2 separate regions of the Homo sapiens genome follow, and region 2 is linked to region 1. The links are contacts of gene promoters, found by promoter capture Hi-C in human tissues and cell types (Jung and others, 2019). All regions are on one chromosome and are shown on one strand. The core of a region is centred on a gene start or on the middle of the fragment in contact, and the rest is flanking DNA. Distances in the headings are between cores, read along the strand shown.

The links. The method cuts DNA at HindIII sites, captures the fragments that hold promoters and counts their contacts. A contact is called where the count stands out against the background at its distance.
Region 2: a fragment that was not itself captured here is called in contact with the fragment with the promoter of NPTX1 in region 1 in 2 of the 25 tissues and cell types used here (IMR-90 fibroblasts and lymphoblastoid cells).

The regions. Positions count from the first base shown.
Region 1 is chr17:80,474,417-80,480,059 of GRCh38, forward strand. NPTX1 (neuronal pentraxin 1) reads right to left here and starts at 2,191. Exons shown (of 5, transcript NM_002522.4): 1 at 1,587-2,191; 2 at 1,095-1,302. The coding sequence starts at 2,030. RefSeq lists an enhancer at 645-1,178. The HindIII fragment of the contact is 30,247 bases long and covers 1-5,643 here.
Region 2 is chr17:81,016,145-81,022,344 of GRCh38, forward strand. LOC124904078 (a long non-coding RNA gene) reads right to left here and starts at 4,774. Exons shown (of 2, transcript XR_007065934.1): 1 at 2,302-4,774; 2 at 1,825-2,204. The HindIII fragment of the contact is 4,495 bases long and covers 1-3,642 here.

The sequences.
Region 1 (5,643 bases), core at 941-3,440:
TCCTGCCAGGAAGCCCAGAAAGAAACCAGTTCCCCAGGCCAAAAATTATTTCTAGAAGACATCCTGCCCGGTCAGCAACCACCCCCTCCTCTAAACCAACTGGCAGGGAGCAGAGCAGGGCAGGCCCCCTCAGTGCAGCACCCCAGCGGCTACCCCAACCCATTGAGGCCTGCAGTGGGGGATAGGGAGGGGCCCAGCCCCTGGCCTTTCTCCGGGTGTTTTTCATTCCCCAATCTCCGCTCCTTCCCTCTCCCTCCCTCCTGAGGTCCTTCCTTCTGATCTGTTTTTCAGTTACATAACAAGCCTTAAGATGGCACTGTTTAAATCTGTCCGGCACATTTTGCGGTCTGAGCAGGGTCACGTGGCCTTGCTCCGCACCGGGCACCCCCCCCCCTCCCCTTTTACAACCTTGTTTGATTTCTGCGACTTCAAGACAGAGCCTCCAGCGCTCATCCAGGCGCCCTGGGTGATAGACTGGCTGGCCTGAGTTGGTGACTGAGAAACCTCAGGGATTTGAAAGATGCCAGGACTTGGGTCACTCAGAAAAGAAAACCTCAGGGTAGGGGTTCAGGACAGAAGTGGGGAGGAGCTGGAGATCCTGAGAGGACACCGGGGGCATGGCAGCCGGGAAGAAACCTGCTTAACAGCCTCAGCGGCCCGGGGAACGAGAGCGCCCAGCCCCAGCCTGCACCCAGCTGTACGCTGAGGCTGGGGACCAGGGAGAGACAGGCTTTCTTAAGCAGGGAGGGTTTGAGCCAGCGACAGCCACTGTGCAAAGTTACTGAGGATTAAACAAATCAGACTTGAAAAATCCAGCGAGTGTGTGAGTGTGTCTGGATGGGGGAGGGGGCACTATGCAATCCCCTTTCCCAGAGACAGCCCCAGCCCAAGGCACCCAGCCCTGATAGAAACACCGACTAGAAGCCCAGAACCTGGGAAGGGGTGCGGGGAATGAGAAAGCGGTGCAGGGGTTGGGGGTAGCGGAGCGGCTTGAGGCTTGCACAGTGCAGAGCTGGGCTGTTAGGGATCGGGACCGAGGCAGGGTCGGGCAAGCAGGTGCAGGCAGGCAGCACGGCTCCCCCTGGCCCCAGTACCTTTCTCGAGCTCGCTGATCCGCTGGTGCAGGGAGGTCAGGGCGGTCTCGATCTTGACCCTCTCCTCGGTGTCGTTCCTGGGGCCCCCCTTGCCCTCCTCCAGGGTGTTCACCCGGGACAGCACCTGCCTCTCCAGCTCATCGATCTTGCTCTGCAGCAGATCCTTGAGGCTGTTGGTCTGGCTGGAGGAATTGAGGCGGCTGTACTGCTGCGGGGTGCAAGGGCGGGGGAAACCACACCGTTAGGCGAGGCGCGGGGACCGTGCTGGAAGGCCCGCGGCGCGGTCCCCTCTGGGCGACTGCGGGGGCGGCCTGGCAGGGAGCTGGGGCGAGTGGCCGCCGCGGGGCCTCGCAGGCGCGGGGAGGCACCGGCCGGGCACCCGCGCGGCTGAGGCGAGGGCGGGGGATGCCTGGCCGGGTAGGGAACGGGGTGGGGGAGGGCAGAGGGGCGAGCGAGCCGGAGGGGGAACCGGAGCCGAGGGCGCGCGCGGACCTCGAGGTTCTCCAGGCGGGTTTTGAGCGATTGCAAAGTTTGCCCGAGTTGGCTGAGCGTCTCGGCGGCCGGTGTCCGGGACAGGTCGCCCATGGTGTTCTTGCCCGAGCCGGGCTGCTTGCGGCCGCCGCCCGCCCGGGCCTCGCCGGCTCCGGGGTCCAGCGTGCTCTGGCTCTCGCAGCGGCCCAGCTTGGCGGTCAGCTCGCGGATGGTCTCCTTCTGGCTCAGGATGGTCTCCTTCTGCTGCAGCACCGTCTCGCGGAGCTGCAGCACGCTGCTCCGGAGCTCCTCGGCGCCGCCGGCGGCCACGGACGCGGCGCACATGTCGGCGTCCACGGGCACCGAGGTGCAGATGAAGCGCGTCGGCCCGAAATCCTGGGCCCCGGCGCCCAGGAGGCAGAGGGCGAGCAGCGCACAGGTGCGCGCGGCGCGGCCGGCCGGCATGGCTGCGGGCACCGGGCGCTCCGGGCCCGGCTCGGCTCGGCTGGGGCTCGGCTCCGGCTGGGACCCGGCTCGGGCTGTGGCTCCGCGAGCGGCCCGCGCTCTGGGCGCCGCGCTCTTCGGCCGCGCGGTCCACACCGCCGCGCTATCAGGCCCCCACTGCCGCCTGCGCTGCGGAGCCCGCGCCTTTTATGCCGCCGCGGGAGGGGCCTCGAGCCGCCGACGTCAGCGGGGGAGGAATCCCGCTTTAATTGTCCGCGGCCCGGGCCCGCGGCGCGGCGGGGGTCTCACGAGCGCGCCACCGGGGCTGCCTCCGCTCGCGTCCCCCCCGCCCTTCTGGGAGCTGCCGCGGCCCCCTCCTCCCCCGCCCCCGCCTGGGCCGGCGCTGCTGCCCCGAAGGCTCCGAGAGCTCAGGGGGAAGGAAGTCGGGCTCCGGCCCCGGACTCGAGGATGGACCACCTGCGTGGTGTCCCCGAACCTCCGACGGGGCTCCAGGCGGGCGGGAAACCACCGCGTCCGGGAGATAGAATTCGGTTCGGCCCTCCTGGCTGCACTGAACACCCTTGGGCCGGGGTCGTTTGGAGCCGGGCTGGGTGCCCAAGGACCCAGGTCGTCAACACCCGAGTGCCCGGTGGTCAACGGCTCGGAGTGGGGCCTCGCGGCGCCACTAAGTCCAGAGCGGGGGTCACCGGGCCGCCCCGCGTTTCTTAGATGTCCGTGTGCTATTGAGAAGCCGCCGGGCAGCCTGGGTACAGGGACTTCCCACGGGTCGGGGCCCCCGGCGCCTCCCCTCCCCCAGCTCCCGGGCTCTGTGGACCCGGCCCCGTCCCCGGGGGACTGTCAGTCCCCACCCCGTGCGGGCGGGGCGCTGGGGACTTCTCGGAGGCAGACCTAGCTGATCGAGCCTTTCCTGTCCGCGGCGCCGGCCCGATCGCGGGCAGGCGGCGTCGCCGGGGCTGGACGTTCGCAGCGGCGCTTCGGAAGGGGGCCCCGCGGGAGCAGCCGCCCGCGTCTCCAGCAGCTTCCCCTTGCCAGGCGCCGCGCGCGCCCGGTATCCCCGGGTGTCCACCTGTGCGTGGGGGGCTGTTTCCCGTCTGTCCAGCCGCGCCCACTTCTCAGGCCCAAAGGCCAGCAGGAAGGGTCCCGGAGGTGGCTGGGGGCGTCCACCTGAGAAGCTCCGCTCTCGCTCAGACACCCCACCCGGCACCCGCGCACTCGCGCCTTCATCTGGACCGCGGGGCTCGGCTCCCGAGATCGCGGTCCGGGTTCCGGCGCCGGGCTGGGGGCTCAGGACCAGGGCTGGCGCAGCCGCCCCGCCCCGCCCCGCCCCGGGGCTATCAGAGCGGTCAAAGCCTCGGAAATCCCTCCGTCCACGCTCCCGTGGTACAGAGAAGGAAACTGAGGCTCCGAGACTGCGGGGCCGGGCTACAGCCGTGGCCCCCCGACCCCTCCCCGCCGCCCCCGGCTTCTCTGGTCTCTGCGTTCTGCAGCCTTTCCCTGCGCGCAGCCGGGGGCTGGGGGTCCCCAGCCAGCAGGGACCCACGGGCAGTCCCGGGTGCCGGGATCGGGCGTCCGCCCCTCGGGCGGGAGCAGAGGCCGGCTCGATGGAGACCTTTTTGAGAAATGGCGGCCTCTACCCGCCCCCCAGCCCCCGAGCGCCCGCCGTCTGCGTTCAGCATCTCAGCTTTTAAGCCTCCCTGAGCCGGGGCTGCGTTCTCGTTGTCTCCTTCGGCCGCCGCTTCCTGGCGCCAGAGGGACCCCGCGGCCCGCACGGGCCTGTCCTCGGCTCCGCTCGGAGGGTGTGCGGGTTCCCGCTCCGCTGGCCCCGCTTGCCCACCACGGCGCGCCCAAACCCACGCGGCCCGCGGCCCCTTGCGTGCTCTGCCGACCCCGGGCCGCAGGAGGGGTTAGCCTCGCCGGTCCCCACGCGGGGTCTGCGCCGGCAGCGCCACGGGCTGGAACGCGCCTCGGGAGAAATTACCCGCGCGGGGTCGCGGCGTCTTCTGCCCCAACTCCCGTAGGGAGCCGCTAGGCGGGTGCCCTCCTGGCCCCAGCGCTTTGGCCTCGCCGCCCTCCCGCACGCGTCCAGTGGGGAGGCCGCGCCCGTCAGGCCTGGAGCCGGACCGTGCCCAGCCGAGAGCGCGCGGGCGCGGGAGAGGAGCCCTGCCCTGCCCAGGGCAGGCTGTTTAGACGGGGCGGGAACCCTTAGCCTGGCCCCGCGTCTCTATCCCCAGCAGCCGTGGAGCCTTCCTAGCCGCCCAAGGCCAGGGACCCTGCCTGGCTTTTCCTCCAGGGCAGCAGATCTCAGCGGCCTGGCACCTCGGCACAGAGGAGCGTGTCCCCCTTCCGCAGAGGAAGGGAGTGGACGGCGTCAGAAAGGGAGGGGAGCCTGGGGCGGTGTCTGGGGCTAGCGGGACCTCTGGGCACTGTGGGGCCCCAGGAGAGGAGACCCTCGGGTCCAGCCTGCAACTGTTGTGCAGGAGGCGCTGGGCGGGACACCTGCAGGCGCTGCACACACACGCGAGGGCCACCATGCCGCGTTTCTCCTTCACAAGACCCTGGGCAAGCGGAGGGTCGTATTTAGGATTCCCTCGGCCTCCCCAGTGTTCTGAAAGTATCTGAGAGGGAGGGAGCAGGAAAACGAAGGGCCGCCCTGCCCAAACTCATCGGGGTGTCTGGTTACTAGGTCGGAAGAGGGGGGATGGTGTTGTGAACAGCCAGTGATCCCGGCCCTGCCTGAGTCCCACACCCCAGATGCAGCTGGGGTGAGGGAGGCGATCCCGTAATATTCCCAGCCGCGTACATTTGTGGCTGCCTGTGACACGACCTCACTCATTGGGAAACCATGCACACTAGCACACTGTTATTTTATTTTTGAGACAGGGTCTTGCTCTGTTGCCTAGGCTGGAGTGCGGTGGCGCAATCACAGCTAACTGCAGCCTCGACCTCTTGGGCTCAAGCGATGCTTCCTGCACCACCACACTTCAGCTAATTTTTTTTGTTTTTTTCGTAGAGATGGTTGAACTCCTCTTGCCTTGGTCTTGGGACTACAGGTGCAAGCCACAGCGCCCGGCCTAGCACAATAGTACTTATTATACTACTCCCACCATAACGGTGCAATAGATGTGAATAAAACTCAAAAGCATAGACAAGGCTGGGCGCAGTGGCTCACGCCTGTAATCCCAGCACTTTGGAAGGCCAAGCTGGATCACATGAGGTCAGGAGTTTGAGACCAGCCTGGCCAACATGGTGAAACCCCGTCTCTACCAAAAATACAAAAATTAACCAGGTGTGGTGGCACACATCTGTAATCCCAGCTACTTGAGAGGCTGAGGCAGGAGAATCACCTGAACCTGGGAGGCAGAGGTTGCAGTGAGCCGAGATCGAACCACTGCACTCCAGCCTGGATGACAGAGCAATACTGTGTCTCAAAAAAAAAAAAGATAGACAATAGTTCAATGTAAGAAAATAATTAGAAAGTGATGAGTTTGTAGTATTTATTGCCCATTTAAAATATAATTTATTTAATTATAAGTTTACTTAGTTTAAAATGTAATAGTGGCTGTGTTTAACCATCGACCTGTGAAATTCCTGCAAATGCCACCATCAGTGGGTA
Region 2 (6,200 bases), core at 145-2,644, 540 kb after region 1:
TGTAATCCCACTTACTTGGGAGGCTGAGGCAGAAGAATCACTTGAACACAGGACGTGGAGATTGCAGTGAGCCACGATCACGCCATTGTACTCCAGCCCGGGTGACAGAGTGAGACTCCATCTCAAAAAAAAAAAAAAAAAGAAAGAAAGAAAAAAGTAAATATGAAATATTACAAACAGTTTTATGCTCATAAATTTGACAATTTAGATTTAATGGGAAAATTCCTTGAAAGACTCAAACTGCCAAAGTTCACTCAAGATTAAATAGGTAAACCAAATTGTCATATGTCTATTAAATGCTACCAAACATTTAAGGAAGACTTAATACCAATTCTACACAAACTCTTAAAGAAAATAGAAGAGGAGAGAACACTTTGCAATTCCTTTTATGAGTTCAACATTACCTTGACCCTAAGACCACATAAGGCCATTACAAGAAAAGCAAACAGACCAATATCCCATATGAACCTAGATGCAAAATCCTCAACTCATTATTAGCAAATAATCCAGCAATATATAAAAATGAGTCTTTATCCTGAAGTAATCTATTTATTCTGGGACAAACAAAATGAGGTTTATCCTGGAAATGCAAGGTTGGTTCAACCTTCAAACATCAGTATCATTCATCGTATCAACAGACTACAAAAAAAAGAATCTTATGATATCTCAATAGATGCAGGAAAAGAATTTGACAAAATTCAACATCCGTTTGTGATAAAAACTCTTAGCAAACTATGAATAAAAAACAACTTCCTTAACTTTTCAGAAGGCATCACAAAAACCCTACAGATAACATCACACTTAATGATAAAAGATTGGATGCTTTCCCCATAAGGAAGGAAACAAGGCAAGGGCGTCTGCTGTCACCACATCTATTCAGCATCATACTGGAGGCCCCGTTCAGTGTAATAAGCAAGAAAATAATAAAATGAACACATATTGGGAAGGAATAAATACACAACTGTCTCTATTTGTGGACAGCATGACTACATAGAAAATCTCAAAGGAGTCTACTAGAACAAATTAGAACATCACAGAATACTAGGTCAGTGTACAAAATGAAATGTGTATTTCTATTTGCTAGCAAGGAACAATTGGAAACTGAAATTAACATTTTATTTATTTTTATTGACTTACATTTTTAGAGACAGAGTCTTCCTCTGTTGCCCAGGCTGAGTGCAGCGGCATGATCACAGCTCACTGCAGCCTCAAACTCCTGGGTACACGTGATCCTTTGGCCTCAGCCTCCTAAGTACAGGTATGTGCCACAATGGCCAGCTAATATCTTTTTTTAGAAACAGGGTCTCACTATGCTGCCCAGGCTGGTCTTGAACTCCTGGGCTCAAGCGATCTTCCTGCCTTGGCCTGCCAAAGTGCTAGGATTATGGATGTGAACCACTGCACCCAGCCTATTTTATTTTTATTTTTTTAGAGATAGGGTCTTGCTCTGTTGCCCAGGCCGGAGTGCAGTCATGCAACCATAGCTCATGGTAACCTCAAACTCCTGGGCTCAAGTGATCCTCCTGCCCCGGCCTCCTGAGTAAGTGAGACTACAGGCATGCACCACCATGCTCAGTGCATGCCTTTTTTTTTTTTTTTTCTTTAAGGTGAGGTCTCCCCGTGTTTCCTAGGCTGATCTGGAACTCCTGGGCTCAAGTGACCCTCCCACTTTGGCCTCCTAAAGTGCTAGGATTATAGGCATGAGCCACTGTGCGTGGCCTGAAATTAACATTTTAAACATGGGGAAACAGACTTCTACTTCCAAGTAGGATGGAGTGCAGCAGATCAAGGCTCCCACTAAGAACTAGAAAGGCCAGGCAAAAATATAAAAATCATCTCTTTAATGGCATCAGAAAGCTACAGAAGCAACAAAGACTAAAGGGGTTAAGCCTCAAAAGAGGAGGGTTCCGTAGGATAAGCAGACCATCTGCAGCCCGCAGTTCCCAAGTGCTTGTTCGTGCTGGGATTAATGACACACGGGAGATTCGAAGGGCAGCTAATCTTGGCAAGAATGAAGACGCGAAAGCTGATCTCTTCTTCAAGACTGTGGCAGGACTGGAAGCTGCGTGAAAACGCTGGTTGAAGAGCTAATTTGAAACTTCCGGAAGGCAGAGCAGAATTGTTTACCTCGCTCAGGGCTAAGGAAGGGGAGGGCTCTAGTTGTCCACAGCAAACTGTCTGTTAATTTCCTGGAGGATTAGTTCCTAGAAACAAGCAACACAGAGATAGGCTCACCGAAAGGGCAGCTTGTCCTCAGCTCAGCTCAGTCCCTGATTGGAGCGAGGAGGTCACCCTCCTTACCGAGGAAATGGGGGACCCTCTCCGCCGGCTGGAACACAGCGTCATCCAGAGCAGGCTCTGCCCATCTTTTCCTTAGCCGGGTAGTAGAAGTGGCCTCTGCCTACTGAACCGTGCTGCTGTAGGGCACACGCAGCCACAGAGCATCTGTGAACAAATGGGCATGGGTGTGTTTCAATACGCTGCGTTCACAAAAGCAGGCGGCTGCCCCCCGCTGCAGTTTGCTGACCCCGGATCTGGAGTCTCCAGGCTTCAGCGCATGACATCCAGCATTCAGAGACCACAGGGCCAAAAATCAAGAGGAAAAATAGCCCGTGGAAACGGATGCACACAAAGCCAGAGAGTGGAAGTCGCAGCAGAGAACCCCTGAACTCTCTGTGAGTTTTTGTTTAGAGTTCGAACTCTGTGCGTTTTTGTTTAGATGGAGGAAGCAAGGGAGAAAGTAGATGAAAAGGTGGAGATTTTTCAGCTGAGAACTGGAATCCATATAACACAAAACTTTTTTTTTTTTTGAGACGGAGTTTCACTCTTGTTGCCCAGGCTGGAGTGCAATGGCGCAATCTTGGCTCACCGCAACCTCCGCCTCCCAGGTTCAATCGATTCTCCTGCCTCAGCCTCCCTAGTAGCTGGGATGACAGGCATGCGCCACCATGCCTGGCTAATTTTGTATTTTTAGTAGAGACGGGGTTTCTCCATGTTGGTCAGGCTGGTCTCGAATCCCCGACCTCAGGTGATCCGCCCGCCTCAGCCTCCCAAAGTGCTGGGATTACAGGTGTGAGGCACCGCTCCCGGCTTATAACACAAAACATTTAAGAATCTGCAAACCCCAAGTTTTCCTGCCATGGCAGGTCTGAGCACAAGGCAGCCGGGAGAGGTTTAATCCTGGGTGAGTCAGGCCGAGTTCCAGTTATCACACTGAGAATCACCCAGTAAATGAAGCTGCTGTGACCAAAGTGACCAAAGGCTGTTTAGTACCTGAAGGTCTTGGGAGGCCCTGGACCTCATGGAGAGAGAACCATAGAGCGTGGGGAGGTGGGGGCAGAGGCCCCCTGGGGCTGAGCCTGTTCTGAGCAGTTCACGGGGGTCTCCTTTTTTATCCTTCTCCTGTGTGCCTGCCTGGGGGGCTTACTGTCAGCTAGCGTGTGGGGGCAAAGGGCAGACAGGTCCACACAGGTGTTCAGCCTCTTGCACAGCCCTGGGGAAGCGGGGATCTTAGATTCTCACCCCACTCCGGGGAGGCGGGAGCTCTGTATCACATGGTCACTTCTGCCCAGCGGGGCCAGTGGCTGGAGCTCAGCGAGGGGACTTGGGTGCAGGCTGCTGTGGAGGGACTGAGGACCCAGGTCTTTATCCTTGGGGCAATGGATGTCAGCACAGGGCTGCCGCAGGGGACTTCAGTCAGATCTGTACTTGGAAAACCTCACTGAGTATGGAGACGGGTTTGGACAGGCCAAGGGCTTCTGGGGATCAGGTAAGGGGCCTTTTCCCAGGTCCGGGGTGGAGGGGTCCGGGGCCCGGAGGTGGGTAGACAGATTCAGGAGCTCAAAGTTGACAAGACATGGGGGCTAGGCTGGGGGTCAGGGGAGGAGAGTGAAGGAAGAGGAAACAGAAAGGGTAACACCAAGGTTCCCAGCTGTATGTGTGGGGATACGGAGGGACCATGGCCCGAGGCTGCGACCTGGCAGGGGGTCTGCTTGGCGACTGTCAGGTAGGCGGTTGGAGCCACAGATCTGGAGGTTAGCGAAGAGGTCTGGACAATACATATTAGTGGCTGGGCACGGTGGCTCACGCCTGAAATCCCAGCACTTTGGGAGGCCGAGGCAGAAGGATCGCTTGAGCCCAGGAATTCAAGACCAGTCTGGGCAACATAGCAAGACCCTATCTCTAGAAAAAAACTTTTAAAAAAATTAGTTGGGCATGGTGGTGCACGCCTGTAGTCTCAGCTACTCAGAAGGCTTAGGCGAGAGGATTGCTTGAGCCCCGGAGGTTGAGGCTGCAGTGAGACCAGATCACGCTTGGGTGACAGAACAAGCAAGACCCTGTCTCCAAAAAAAAAAAAAGAGAGAAATACGCATATGAGAGCCATCTGAGTCTACAGGGGAGAGTGCTAAGCTCCACCCTACCTGTGCCAGGGCCCACGGCTCCTGTTGAGAAATGGCCTTAGGAGGCCTGGGGCTTACTGAGAGGGGCAAGCTCGTCTAGGAGATCCAAAGTTTAAGGACATCACCTGAAAGCAGTGTGTGCTCGCGGGCACTCAGGCGCCCGTCTGCGGTGCAATCGTGGACAGGATAGCCTGGGCTCCACCGTGCTTGGTTAAAGGGGCCGAAGGAGGCCCCAGGAGGTCAGCTCAGGGGGTTCCAGCTTGCCCCTCCTGGGGGGGGTGGTCTTCGTTGAGGTTTGGTGGAGATGCTCCTGGAGGTGCACCTTTGCTCCACAGCTGAGGCTGGGCCTCACGTTGGGAGCAGCCGGCAGCATTGAGAGCTGCATTTGGGGGGCGGGGAGGCAGTAACAGCAGCCACACCCAGGGGCAGAGCCAGCTGCACCCCAGCCAGCACAGGGCCTGCGGTTGGACTAAAGGCTGGTCCTTGGGCCAGGCTGGCTCCGGTGTTTCCCTTCAGCTCTCAGGTTCTCTCCAGCCTTTCCGGAAACCTACTCATCTCCCAGTTTCCTGCCAAGAAACCCCATTACTACTGAAGTCTCAGACTCTCGACTGCCAGGCCTGGTGGGTGAAGCTGCCTCCAGCCGGGAAGAGGCCTTGGAGGCGCCGGGAGGGCCCAGCTTCCCCGTGCCCGGCCGCGTGGCCTTGGGAAAGCCCCTCAGTGCTCCGGGCCTCCGTGTCCCTTTCCACACCATGAGGCTCCTGGCATTTCTCCTGTGGCCTGTGGGGTGTCACTGGGGCAGGAGTGGGCCGGCTCCCTGGCTCCCGGCCACCACCCCTCAGCATGGTCTGCTTGGCAGCCAGGGACAGTCTGGGCTTCCACCCAAAGCGTCTGCAGGGAGCAGGTGGGGACGTCCATCCACTGTGCTGTGTCCAACCGCGTCTGTCGTGTTTCTCCACGGAGAGCACCGGGCAGTCGAGGGGGTGCAGGGACTGCGGGGCCTCCCTACAGACACAGTCTGGGTGCCTGGCAGCTCAGGGACCTCCTTTCACACCCTCTACCACCTGCAGATGCCCCCCACATGTGTCTGTCCTCGCTGCTTCTGAAACTCCCCTTGGGCCAAAAGGTGCCCCTGGGTTGGGTCCAGGGAGGCCCCATGTAGCTGAAGGAGCTGAGATTTGGGCCAAAAACCTGCAAGGGGAAGGCAGGTGTAGGGTGTGGACTCCACGGCGTCCTCCAGGCTCACTTCCCCGATGGAAACTGAATGGGAGAACTGACATTTCTGGGAGAATTCCGGCTCCTTTGAAAAAGGCGGCACGCAGAAGACGCTCAACACCATCGCCACCAGGAAATGCAAGTCAAAACCACCAGGAGGCTGGGCGCAGTGGCTCACGTCTGTATTCCCAGCACTTTGGGAGGCCGAGGTGGGTGGATCACCTGAGGTCAGGAGTTCAAGACCAGCCTAGCCAACATGGTGAAACTCCATCTCTACTAAAAATACAAAAATTAGCCGGGCATGGTGGTGGGCACCTATAATCCCAGCTACTCTGGAGGCTGAGGTATAAGAATCGCTTGAACCCAGGAGGCAGAGGTTGCAGTGAGCCAAGATCGCAGTACTGCACTCCAGCGTGGGCGACAGAGCGAGACTCTGTCTGAAAAACAAACAAACAAAACCACCAGGAGATCTGCCTCACACCTTCAGGATGGCTAGAATTAAAAAAACAAAAACAAAAAACAGAAAACCAGTGTGGTGAAGCTGTGAGGAACTGTACCCTGGCTGGCAGGGAGGTAAAATGCTGCAGC